Linked DNA regions of Homo sapiens: region 1 is linked to region 2. Evidence: promoter capture Hi-C in human tissues and cell types (Jung and others, 2019). All regions are on one chromosome and are shown on one strand. Each heading gives the region's core, a stretch centred on a gene start or on the middle of the fragment in contact. The rest is flanking DNA. Distances are from core to core; before and after follow the strand shown. Region 1 overlaps SLC9A9 (solute carrier family 9 member A9). Region 2 holds the start of CHST2 (carbohydrate sulfotransferase 2).

Evidence for each region. Contacts are between HindIII fragments. The study calls those that stand out against the background at their distance.
Region 1: a fragment that was not itself captured here is called in contact with the fragment with the promoter of CHST2 in region 2 in 1 of the 25 tissues and cell types used here (dorsolateral prefrontal cortex).

What each region holds. Positions count from the first base shown.
Region 1 is chr3:143,747,387-143,752,888 of GRCh38, reverse strand. The region is part of intron 4 of SLC9A9 (solute carrier family 9 member A9); the gene reads left to right. Among named protein-coding and RNA genes, the nearest start is that of SLC9A9, 98 kb to the left of the region's middle. RefSeq lists enhancers at 704-823, 884-1,233. The HindIII fragment of the contact is 3,672 bases long and covers 2,235-5,502 here.
Region 2 is chr3:143,116,142-143,121,020 of GRCh38, reverse strand. CHST2 (carbohydrate sulfotransferase 2) reads right to left here and starts at 1,250. Exons shown (of 2, transcript NM_004267.5): 1 at 480-1,250; 2 at 1-377. The coding sequence starts at 204. RefSeq lists silencers at 1-67, 128-327, 388-467, 518-567, 598-647 and 1 more and enhancers at 1-534, 858-907, 1,193-1,692, 1,888-2,017, 1,693-2,194. The HindIII fragment of the contact is 8,898 bases long and covers 1-4,879 here.

The DNA.
Region 1 (5,502 bases), core at 2,821-5,320, 630 kb before region 2:
AGCCCAATAAGTGCAACAACAATATGTCTCTAAGGAGCCACTTCTTTTCTTTTCCATATCCATTGGAAGCAGATTATGGGAGCAAAGCTTATCTCCCATTTTTATCCATTTTAACAATGTTCTACCTACTGCTAAACTGAGCTGCCTTAAGCTCAGTACAAAGCCCTTTTCAGAGCATCTAACGGATAACTTAAAAAAAAAAAAAAAAACCTTTTCACATAGCTCTCCTGGTACCCTTTCAAGAGTTGCGGCTCTGTGCAGGCAGCCAGACTTGTGCTGGCTTTTGGGGACAAAAGCACACCAAGTATTATAACTACACTCATTATTTTAAGTTGCCGCCATACTCCTGCTCCTACCTTCTTTCTTTCTTGCAATGTTCACCCTTACCTCCCTTGAGATGGGCAGACCTATGGAGGCCGCTATGCTTTTTCTTTGTTCACTGGTCAGGAAAGCACAGTGAGCATCTCTTGTGTTAAATCGTCTCAGCTTTATCAGGCAACGGTGCCTAAAACTTACGGTCTCATCTGGAGACTTACTAGGCTGCCTGTGGCTAATACGATAAAAAAGAGAATTCAAAACAGGTGGAATGGGGGCCAGATGTTTCTAGAAGCCTGTGAATAGTTTGTTTCCATATCACCAGAGATAAAGGTGGACTGCTGTTCTCTCTGCTAATGAGAGAGATCTCTGGAATCTCATTTTCTTTCCACATAAGGATGGGGTGGTGTGCACTCTGCTGCTGCAGCTGAGGAGATTTCTGAGAACTCTGTGGTTTATTTTAAAATCTCTCAACATCACTTTGAAGTAAGTCTACTTTGAAGTAACTCTGAACCTGTTTCTGAAGAGTTTGATGTGTGTCTGAAAGGCGATTTCAGTAGTCCTCTCCTCCCAGCCCTGGTTCTTCCCTCTCCCCAGCTGCCATGTTGGCCTGAACAGGTTTTCTTACAGTCAGCCTCACTGAGGATGCCCCAGGCCCTGGCCCAGAATCACACTCCACTCAACGCAGTGCTGAGGAGAAAGGCAAACATTGCCTATTTCATTTGAGTCTTCGCTGTGGTCTGCTTCTCCCTGTACCCCCAGCTGCTTTCTTTCACTTCCTTTCAGCATTTGCCTGTTGATGCCATGTCTGCCCGATCTTGAGTAGTGTCATACTATTTACTTCCTGTCATCCCTCTCACAGATAGGCTCCCTTGGAAGCCAACCCTGAAGCAGAGGTTCTTGTGCACAGATTAGGGAGTGCTTTTGGGATCAGACCTGTGGAAAGAAGCGGTGGGAGGTAGGAGGGTGCAGAGGAAGTTGAACTACAATGCAGCCCCTCACCAAAGCCCCAGCTGACCCCAAGGAGTGGGGACTCTGGAGTCAGGATGGCCCTTCAGAGCTGTCTAAACTGGCACAGGAGACCAGGTCTTCATATGTTTATAGCATCGGATGTCTCTGGAAAGCAGCATGCCCTCCAGGAAAGATAGCTTCCTTCAACCAAGGAAATCCCCATAGGGAGCTCAGAGCTAAGGGCCCTCTTTGCCGCAGTGGGGGGAATAAATTCTACATCTTCAAAGGGAGATGAAGGCTAGGCATCATATCATCCACCACCAACAATTAGGTGGATCTGCAGGTAACCTCCTCCTGGTGGTTTTAAGGTGAGATACTTAGAGAAGGTGATGCCTTCAGAGAGTCTGCAACCTTTTCTCCACACAGCATGAGCCTGTTTAGACAGCAGCAAGAGCTGCACTCTTGACTCGCCCTGCAATATCAAACTATGGTCCCAGTTAGCCTGGCTTCCAAAACAGAACTGCCCATGAACAATGACTTCCTATCTCCTTGAAGCAGCATCTGATGTGCATCTTCTCCAGCAGCCCTGAAAACTGGTTCTGCCAGCTGGAGAGGGGAGAGCCAGCATTTAGACTCAACAGGAAGCTTGGATTTCAACAGAGAAAAAATACATAAATATTTATCTAATCACATAATTAAAGGAAATCTACTGCCCCATACAGTTGCAATCTAAATAACCCACTTCATTAAAATGCAGATGTTCTTGCGAAATTCTTTAAAATTTTTTCAAAAGGTTCTTTCCTCCATGGGTTTGTTTTTTAAAAGAAGAGACAAATATTTGTTATAAATATATAAGATATATAATTATATATGTATATATATATATATAGATATATATTTAACAGCATTTTGTTTTTACTCTGTACCCTCTTCCCATTTGACTATACAATATTATCAGTTATTAGTACTCAACAAGGATATTACCAAATGACATCATAAAACATTTTCATCTTTCACCATTACAGGACAGCAGGCAGATTTGTCTACACAGGTGAGGGAAATGGAGAGCTGAATTATTCAGTGAATTTGATTAATGTTTATGTCAGAGCAGGAACAAATGTATCAGTAATGGGAAGTTCAATTAGTGCTTTAATTAATTAGGTTCCTGTTTTTAGCTCTATTGTGAAAGATAATTATTTGTTAGCTTTGCTTAGGACCTGGGCTAAGGCCTTGATTACAGGTATTAAAAAATATAATGCAAGAGAATTGGGGCTCTGAAGAAACTTAAAGCTTGTGACAATAGAAAATGCCAGTGAAAATTCAAGCACATTGTCATTTACTGGAGTCATTAAAGCCTCCACTGAAAGTTAGAACAAAGTTCAAAATAAATGATTTTAACTGAAGTTAGAATTGTAAGGCCCTTTTGGTGCATTGTCTTCCTCTTCCACGGGAATTTAGGGCCACTTTTAACTGCTGTATCAAGACAATACGGCATTATGCATTTAACCAGGAAGCTGACTTTAGAGTCTCTTTCTCTCTGTCTCTTTCTCTGTGTCTGCCCGGAGCTTTTATTTTTACAATGATAAACCTATTCGCAAATAAGGATCATGGAGGCTTAATCTTATAACAAAAAATGGAGTAGTATCTGCAGGAGAGCCTGCGTAATTTAGATTTCTCCCCCTACTCACTGGTAGAGTTTAATCATATCCGAAAGGCACAGTGATTTAAGTGCCTGAGCATCTGCATATAGACTTTCCTTTTGTTCCTGATTTTAGTCTAGCCCGCAGTTCTCAAACTTCAGTGTGTACAAAGATTTCCATATAGGAATATACTCTTGAAACCGGGATAACTGTACCTCATGGACCAATTAAGAGAATTTCAAGGGCAATTTAAACTCTCTGAGAATTGTAAGAAGCAGAACAACTATTGAACCACTTCGTCCTGGAAATCAACTAAAGATGAAATCTTTTATCCCAAGTAACCATTCTCCGCAACTCTAGCGTTAACATATGACAAAACGATGTGGTACTGATGGAGTACTGAAGTTTATGAATGACTTGCTTTTTAATTTTGTATTTAAAAAGCATTCAGCGTTAGTCCTTATAAAGTGGAATGCGTAATCTTTGGCATCTGGGGATGCTTTGCTGAGTGGGAGCGAGGGAATTTCAACCAAGTATCCAGACATGGAATTTTTAGCTTAGCTGTTCGATGCTGTGGCCTTTTCCAGTGGGTTGTGGCTCTTAGACTATTGTTGTGTTTTTGATTTTACAGCTAATTTTCTTCTTAATGTTAACCATGGATACATTTTTCTAAAGGGAGGAAAACAGGAGTAGAGAAAGAAAACATCTAGATCATGTATGATAAAGAATGATACTGTAGCTATTTTTGTTCTTAACAACACAATAGCAATGCTCCAAATAAGGCAAAGAGATGTGAGAAGCATTTATAAATAATAATTTAAAATATTATGCAAATATATAAACCATGTGTTTATAATGTTTCAAACATGCTTTAAATTTTCTTCACTAGTCTATATTTGCACCTTTATTAGTATTATTCATGAAGCAAAATTAAGGTCTAGAAAAAAAAAGACTTGAAGTTCAGTTAAAAAGCTTGGTCAGGCCGGGCGCGGTGGCTCACGCCTGTAATCCCAGCACTTTGGGAGGCCGAGGCGGGTGGATCATGAAGTCAGGAGATCGAGACCATCCTGGCTAACAAGGTGAAACCCCGTCTCTACTAAAAATACAAAAAATTAGCCGGGCGCGGTGGCGGGCGCCTGTAGTCCCAGCTACTCGGGAGGCTGAGGCAGGAGAATGGCGTGAACCCAGGAAGCGGAGCTTGCAGTGAGCCGAGATTGCGCCACTGCAGTCCGCAGTCCGGCCTGGGCGACAGAGCGAGACTCCGTCTCAAAAAAAAAAAAAAAAAAAAAAGCTTGGTCAAAAAGAGACTCTTTGCCAGTCCGTCCTCTGTTCAAAGAAAGAAGAGATGACATTCTTCTTTCCTTTGAACATTGTAAGTCCATTTTCTCATTCAGTTACCTTTTGTTCATGAAGGGTCAGCTGAACCATTTGGTAGTAGAGGATATTTGCTGGATGGTCAGAGCAGCAGCCAGACATTTAGTGAGGGGAATTTTCATGAAAAGAAAAAGAAAACCAAATATTAATAGTTGGAAACCCAGTTTCCAAATCCAGAGGGCAGCCAGTTGAGGTCCAGACATTGGGCTTGAAGCATCTTAATGAGGACAGTTGTGGCAGGCTGACAGATTTACTGGGTTGCAATTTGAATGTCTTTGGTGATGGCATCAGTTTTGCTGGCTTGGCTGAGCCCAGACCTAGCCACAAGGCTCTTATATTTGTGGGGTCCCGGATAAGAGCACAAACAGAGCCCGCATATCATGGGCCTGAATATCTAAAGTTCTACGGCAAGTCACCAGACAGCTAAAGAAACATGTTCTATACATCTGTCTTGACAAATATGTGTTCATAATGATCAAGAAGGCTAGTTCAATTTGGAATTCTTGAAACTAAGTTCAGTGTCAACTAACTTAGAGGCAGTGGGATTGAGATGCCCTGATCTCTAGCTGCTAATCCACTCTGGCTCAATCGCAGACTTAGGAAAGGGGTTCGTGGAGACACAGGGGCAGTCTTGGGACCATCAGGGCAGATTTCAGTGTCTCAGGTGCCTGGAGTGTGGCCTAGATGGGAGCGCTCCCTACCCTGAGGGGAAAGGACCACTGGACAAAGTTCCTAAGGAGGTCTATAATGTATACAGCATGATTGTATTCATTTCTTATAGCTGCTGTAACAAATTACTACAAATGTGGAAGTTTAAAACAATCGAAATATATGATTTTCCAGTTCTGGAGGCCAAAGTCAGTATCACCAAACCAAGGTATCAGCAGGGCTTCTTTTTTCCCAGAGGCTGTTGGAGAAAACTTGTTCTTGTTTTCTTCTTCCAGCTTCTGGCAGCCGCTGGCATTCCTCATGTTATGACTGCATTACTCTAGTCTTCAAAGCCAACATCCTTAAATCCCTCTTTGCTTCACCTTCATATCCCCCACTCTGTGGGTGTATTCAAGTCTCTCTCTGCCTGTACATCATAAGGATAGAAGTGATTGCATTTAGGGTCCACCTGAATAATTCAGGGTCATCTCCTTATCTCAAGATTTTTCACCTAATCACATCTGCAAAGTCCCTCTTTTTTTTTTTTTTTTTTTTTGAGATGGAGTTTCACTCT
Region 2 (4,879 bases), core at 1-2,500:
GAGCACCAGCAGCAGTGCATAGCCCGCGCACAACACCAGCGCCTTCCTACGGAACACCTTCATTCCGAGAGGGGACGCGGGCCAGCGGCGTCCTGGGCGCCGGGGCCACTGCGGGAGCAGGGCACGCGGCGCGGCTGCAGGCGCAGCCTGGAGCAGCCGAGGGAGCGCGCCCGGGGGCAGAGCTCGCTGCGGGCTGCGGCTCATCACAGGCACAATCCGGGCCGGCGGCGCGGCGGAGGCAGCCCTGCAGCCCGGGAAGGGGACGCAGCGGGCTGGCTGCTGGCGCCGGGACTCGGGCCGCGACTCCGAGGCGGGCGCGGCGGCTGGTCCCCAGCGCCCAAGGCTGGCTCTCCCATGGCAGCGGCTCCGGGTAGGACCTGCGAGGGGAAGCGGAGTGAGCGGATGCGCCCCAATCTCCCTCCCAGCCTCCTCCTCCTAAGTAACGCCCACCCTCGGTTCTGCCCGGTTCCTCCGCTCACCTGGAGCCGAGGGCGCGCCCGGGAGCGGCCCCGGATCACCGCCCGGCGGACTGTCCGGCTGTCACTCGTTCCTCGATTTCGCTCCCTCTCGCTTCCGCTGGGGGTCCCCGCACCTTCGAGGGGTCTGGGGAGTCGGCCGACTTATCCCTGGGCAGTTTCCGGGCAGCGGGCGCCCTGCGGCTCGGGAAGAAAAACTTTCACGCGGCCCAGAGCCCCGCTCCGCGCTCCGCCGAACCCGGCGCCTCCCGGCTCCAGCGACGTCTCCTCCGCTTTCTCGGGACCGCAGCTTCCTGTCTCGCTCAGGGGAACGAAGCCGGCTGGGGGCGATGGCTGGGGGCGGCTTATATGGGACTCAGCTCCCGGCATAGCGGCGCAGCCCCTCTCGCTTTCGGCCTCCGTGCGGCGAATTTTCCCACCTCTCTGGCAGCGGTGGATGGGGCACAGCGCGACCCCGCAGCGGCGGCGGCGGCTGCTTCCATCACCGGGAGGATGCCCGGGCGGACAGCGCAGGCAACCCCCGCCGCTCCGCAGCCTCCGACTGGACCAAAGGACCCCGAACACACAGCTCTAGGCAAGGAAACCCAGGTGTGCAGCACTGCCCGACCCGACCCAACCCGCCCCCGGTACCAGCGCTTCTGGCCAACGAGGTATTTAAGCAAAGAAAGACCCCGCCGCAGCCGCCGCCGCCGCGCGAAAGCGGCGCCCAGGAGGATGCTGCTACCCGACTCCCCTTACGCCGGGCGCCCGCAACGCGCTCGGACCAGCCTCTGCGCGGCTCCTGCCAGCCGGCGCCCGGTTGGTGCGCGCCGCCGTCTGTCGCCGCGGCTCCTCCCCTCCGCCGCGCAGCCCTCCCCCTTCGCCGGCCCCGCCCCCGCCCCCAACGCCGAGCCGGCTCCCACCGTCGCTGCGCCTCGGGGGCTGGAGACGCGACCCGCTTTACCGCGACGCGCGGGGGCTGCAGTCCACGGGTCCGAAGGCTTAGCTCTGCGCGCAAAGCGCCGGGATGCGAACGCGGGATCTGGAGCTCGTCGGTGCCGAGAGCTGCCAGAGAGTTGGATTCTGCGTGCAGCTGCCGGACTCGGCCCCATGTTTTTGCTCTCAGAAAGAGTTGGTGATGAAGTTTGGGCAGAAATCCCCTGTCGGCCGTCCGCTCCACGCTTCCCTCGGGGCCGACACTGCCAACCTCTCCGGGCACTGAGGACACCTCTGCGCCCTGGAGCGGTGGGAGGACGCGGAGCGCCGTTCTCTGGCTTCCGACACCCTGCCCGCCCTCTCTAGTGGGTCTGTGGCTGCGCCCTCTCGAAGGAAGTAATAAATCTTTCTGACCTTGGGGGTCAGAGGAGACGCTTCAGTTTTCCGGAGGGGTGTGCGGGCGGGACCGTCTTTCCGCTTTACTGGACCTCTGGCCGGGGCTGCTCTTGTTTCATTGTGCCCCACATGCGGAGCCCCGATGCTCTCCGCATTTCCGCTCGCGGTGCTGCGTCCACTGTGATTGACGTCCTCTGGAATTGGGGTGATGGGGGAGGGGAACGCCCCGTTCTAATTTGCAGAAAAATACTTGTCCCGCTTCTTGGTTTTGTAGATGAGATCAAAGAACTTGACCCCAAAGGAAACACCGTTGTTGAAAGAAAATCATTTTTCAGTTGCTTTAGGTTTAAGTACTTTTGTTTAAGGTTATGAGGAAAAGCGTCTCTCTCTCCCCCCAACTCCCTCCCTCCCCAAGAACACTAAGCTGTAGCCTCAACTTCATCTGTAGAATGGGGACAGTTGTAACAGCCTCCGGAGACTGAACGGTGGTTGAGTATCAGAGCGCGCACACGAAAGGTTAGACCTGAGTTCAGGCCTCCAAGTGCCGAAAAGGGAATCTCCGTGGGGCCTGAGGCTCAGCACCCTCGGATAAACAGAGCTCTCGCTGATCCGGAGTTTTGTTGCCTCCTGTCCCAGTAGAGTTTTTAGAAGTTACTGCACAATTATCTTTGTAGCGTTTCGGGCAGACTTTTCAGAGGACCGTTCTAACATTAAAATATTGCTGTTTGCGCCATTATTCTTCCATGAGTCTTACAGAATCCCCTGAGTACAAAGACTTGAAAAGTGACTTAACTCGCTTTCCACGGGTTTTTAACTCTCTTACGGATTTAGTTTCAGGGGAGAAAAATGTTCAAAAAACTTATTTATCCTTGTTTTCCAGAAAAACCCATAATGTCACGAGTACAGTTCAGCTTATTTTTTCTCCTGGGGAGGGGGATTGGGACAAGGACAGCAGAGCTCAAATTTTATATCCAGCTTTCTCAAATAATATGGCATTGCCTCTGGAAGTGGGTCGAGACAGGCAAGAATCCCTGTTAACAGATGAAGGTGGTAGAGTTTAATTGAGCGACTCCCCATCTTTTCCTTTTCTGGAATCCCCAGCCTCCCTTCGCCTACTCTCTCAAATGCCCCTGCCCCTTTTTCACCACCTCTTTTACCACGAAAACTAAAATGACATTGGTGCATGAAAAGACTGATGGGAGAGAGAGGGAATTGGGGAGGAAAGTAAATCTCAATTTTAATATTCAACATGATTCCAAGAAAAATAATTTCTAATATTTTTCATTTAGTTTCTGGCTTTGTGCTTACCCAGAAAAAAACTGAATTGCATTAGTCGATGTAGGGACCCTTTTTAAAAACAATTGTTTGCATAGAAATAATTCCGTTTGCAATTTTGTAACACTTTACTGGTGTTGGCAAAATAGTAAATCCATTTGCCAGGTGCCCCCACAGTGCTCAGCTGGCATAAATTTACGGGTTCTGGCATCTCCACCCTCTCCTTGCTTGCAAATTTTTCCCATTTTGCATGGTGTCATGATTAATTCTGAACTTTGTTATAGCTAATGACATCTGAAAACTTCATAATGCCTTCCTTCCCGCATTTGTTTGGAAATTCCTTTCATTTTAATCTACTTATTTTAGCATAGTAATGACCCAGACATATAATATGTCACATAATAATGTCACTTGCACAAGAGCCAGTCATGCCACAGGGCTAGCCTTAATTTCGGCTCACTGGTTTAGTTTGTCACAATTCCATCTCCCCCAGGATGCTCTTTCAGTCTCTGTCTTCTCTGCTGCCTGTTATGTTCTATTGGAAACTGTCAGGCCTCTGAGCCAAAGCTAAGCCATCATATCCCCTGTGACCTGCATGTACACATCCAGATGGCTGGTCCTTGCCTTAACTGATGACATTCCACTACAAAAGAAGTGAAAATGGCAGGTCCTGCCTTAACTGATGACATTACCTTGTGAAATTCCTTCTCCTGGCTCATCCTGGCTCAAAAAGCTCCCCCACTGAGCACCTTGTGATCCCCCCCTCCACACCTGCCCACCAGAGAACAACCCCCTTTGACTGTAATTTTCCTTTACCTGCCCAAATCCTATAAAACGGCCCCACGCCTATCTCCCTTCACTGACTCTCTTTTCGGACTCAGCCCGCCTGCACCCAGGTGATTAAAAAGCTTTATTGCTCACACAAAGCCTGTTTGGTGGTCTCTTCACACTGATGCGAGTGAAAGAAACTTGCTGTGGCTTTTGCTTAATCCTGGACAAATGTCCAGAGATCTTCAAGGACTTTCTTCCAGAGTCTGAACTGGGGAAAGATGCAAGGCTGGGTTACCTGAACAGTTCCCATTTGGGCCTATCTGTGTGAATCCTAGAAGATTCACCTTTGGAAAATGTTTGCCCCTGGGCACCAAGATAGATTCACTCCCTCATATTTTGAACAAATATGCATTTTCAATAGAACTTGAGATTATAGATTCAGGTTACTCATAATCCTTGATTTAAGATATGCTGCCATTGTTAGTCCAAGTGGCCCTTTTAAATGTCCTATGTTTTAATATAATGAATATGCATGAACCCATTACACAGCCCAAAAACCTCCAAGAGTAACCGCTCTACTTAGTTTAGAAACTGAGATGAAATGATAAAGTTCTAACAGGAAGGAAAAACAACTTGCTTTAACAATCTCAAAAAGATACAAGACTACTTATGGCCGGGCACGGTGGCTCATGCCTGTAATCCCAACACTTTGGGAGGCTGAGGTGGGCATATCACTTGAGCCTAGGAGCTTGAGACCAACCTGGGCAACATGGCAAAACCCCATCTCTACAAAAACTACAAAAAAATTAGCCAAGTGTGGCAGTGCATGCCTGTAGTCCCAGCAACTCGGGAGACTGAGATGGGAGAATTACCTGACCCCAGGAGGTCAAGGCTGCAGTGAGCCATAATGGTGCCACTGCACTCCAACCTGGGCAACAGAGTGAGACCCAGTCTCAAAAAAAAAAAAAAGAAAAAGAGGTTGGGCACGGTGGCTCACACCTGTAATCCCAGCACTTTGGGAGGCCGAGTTGGGCAGATCACCCGAG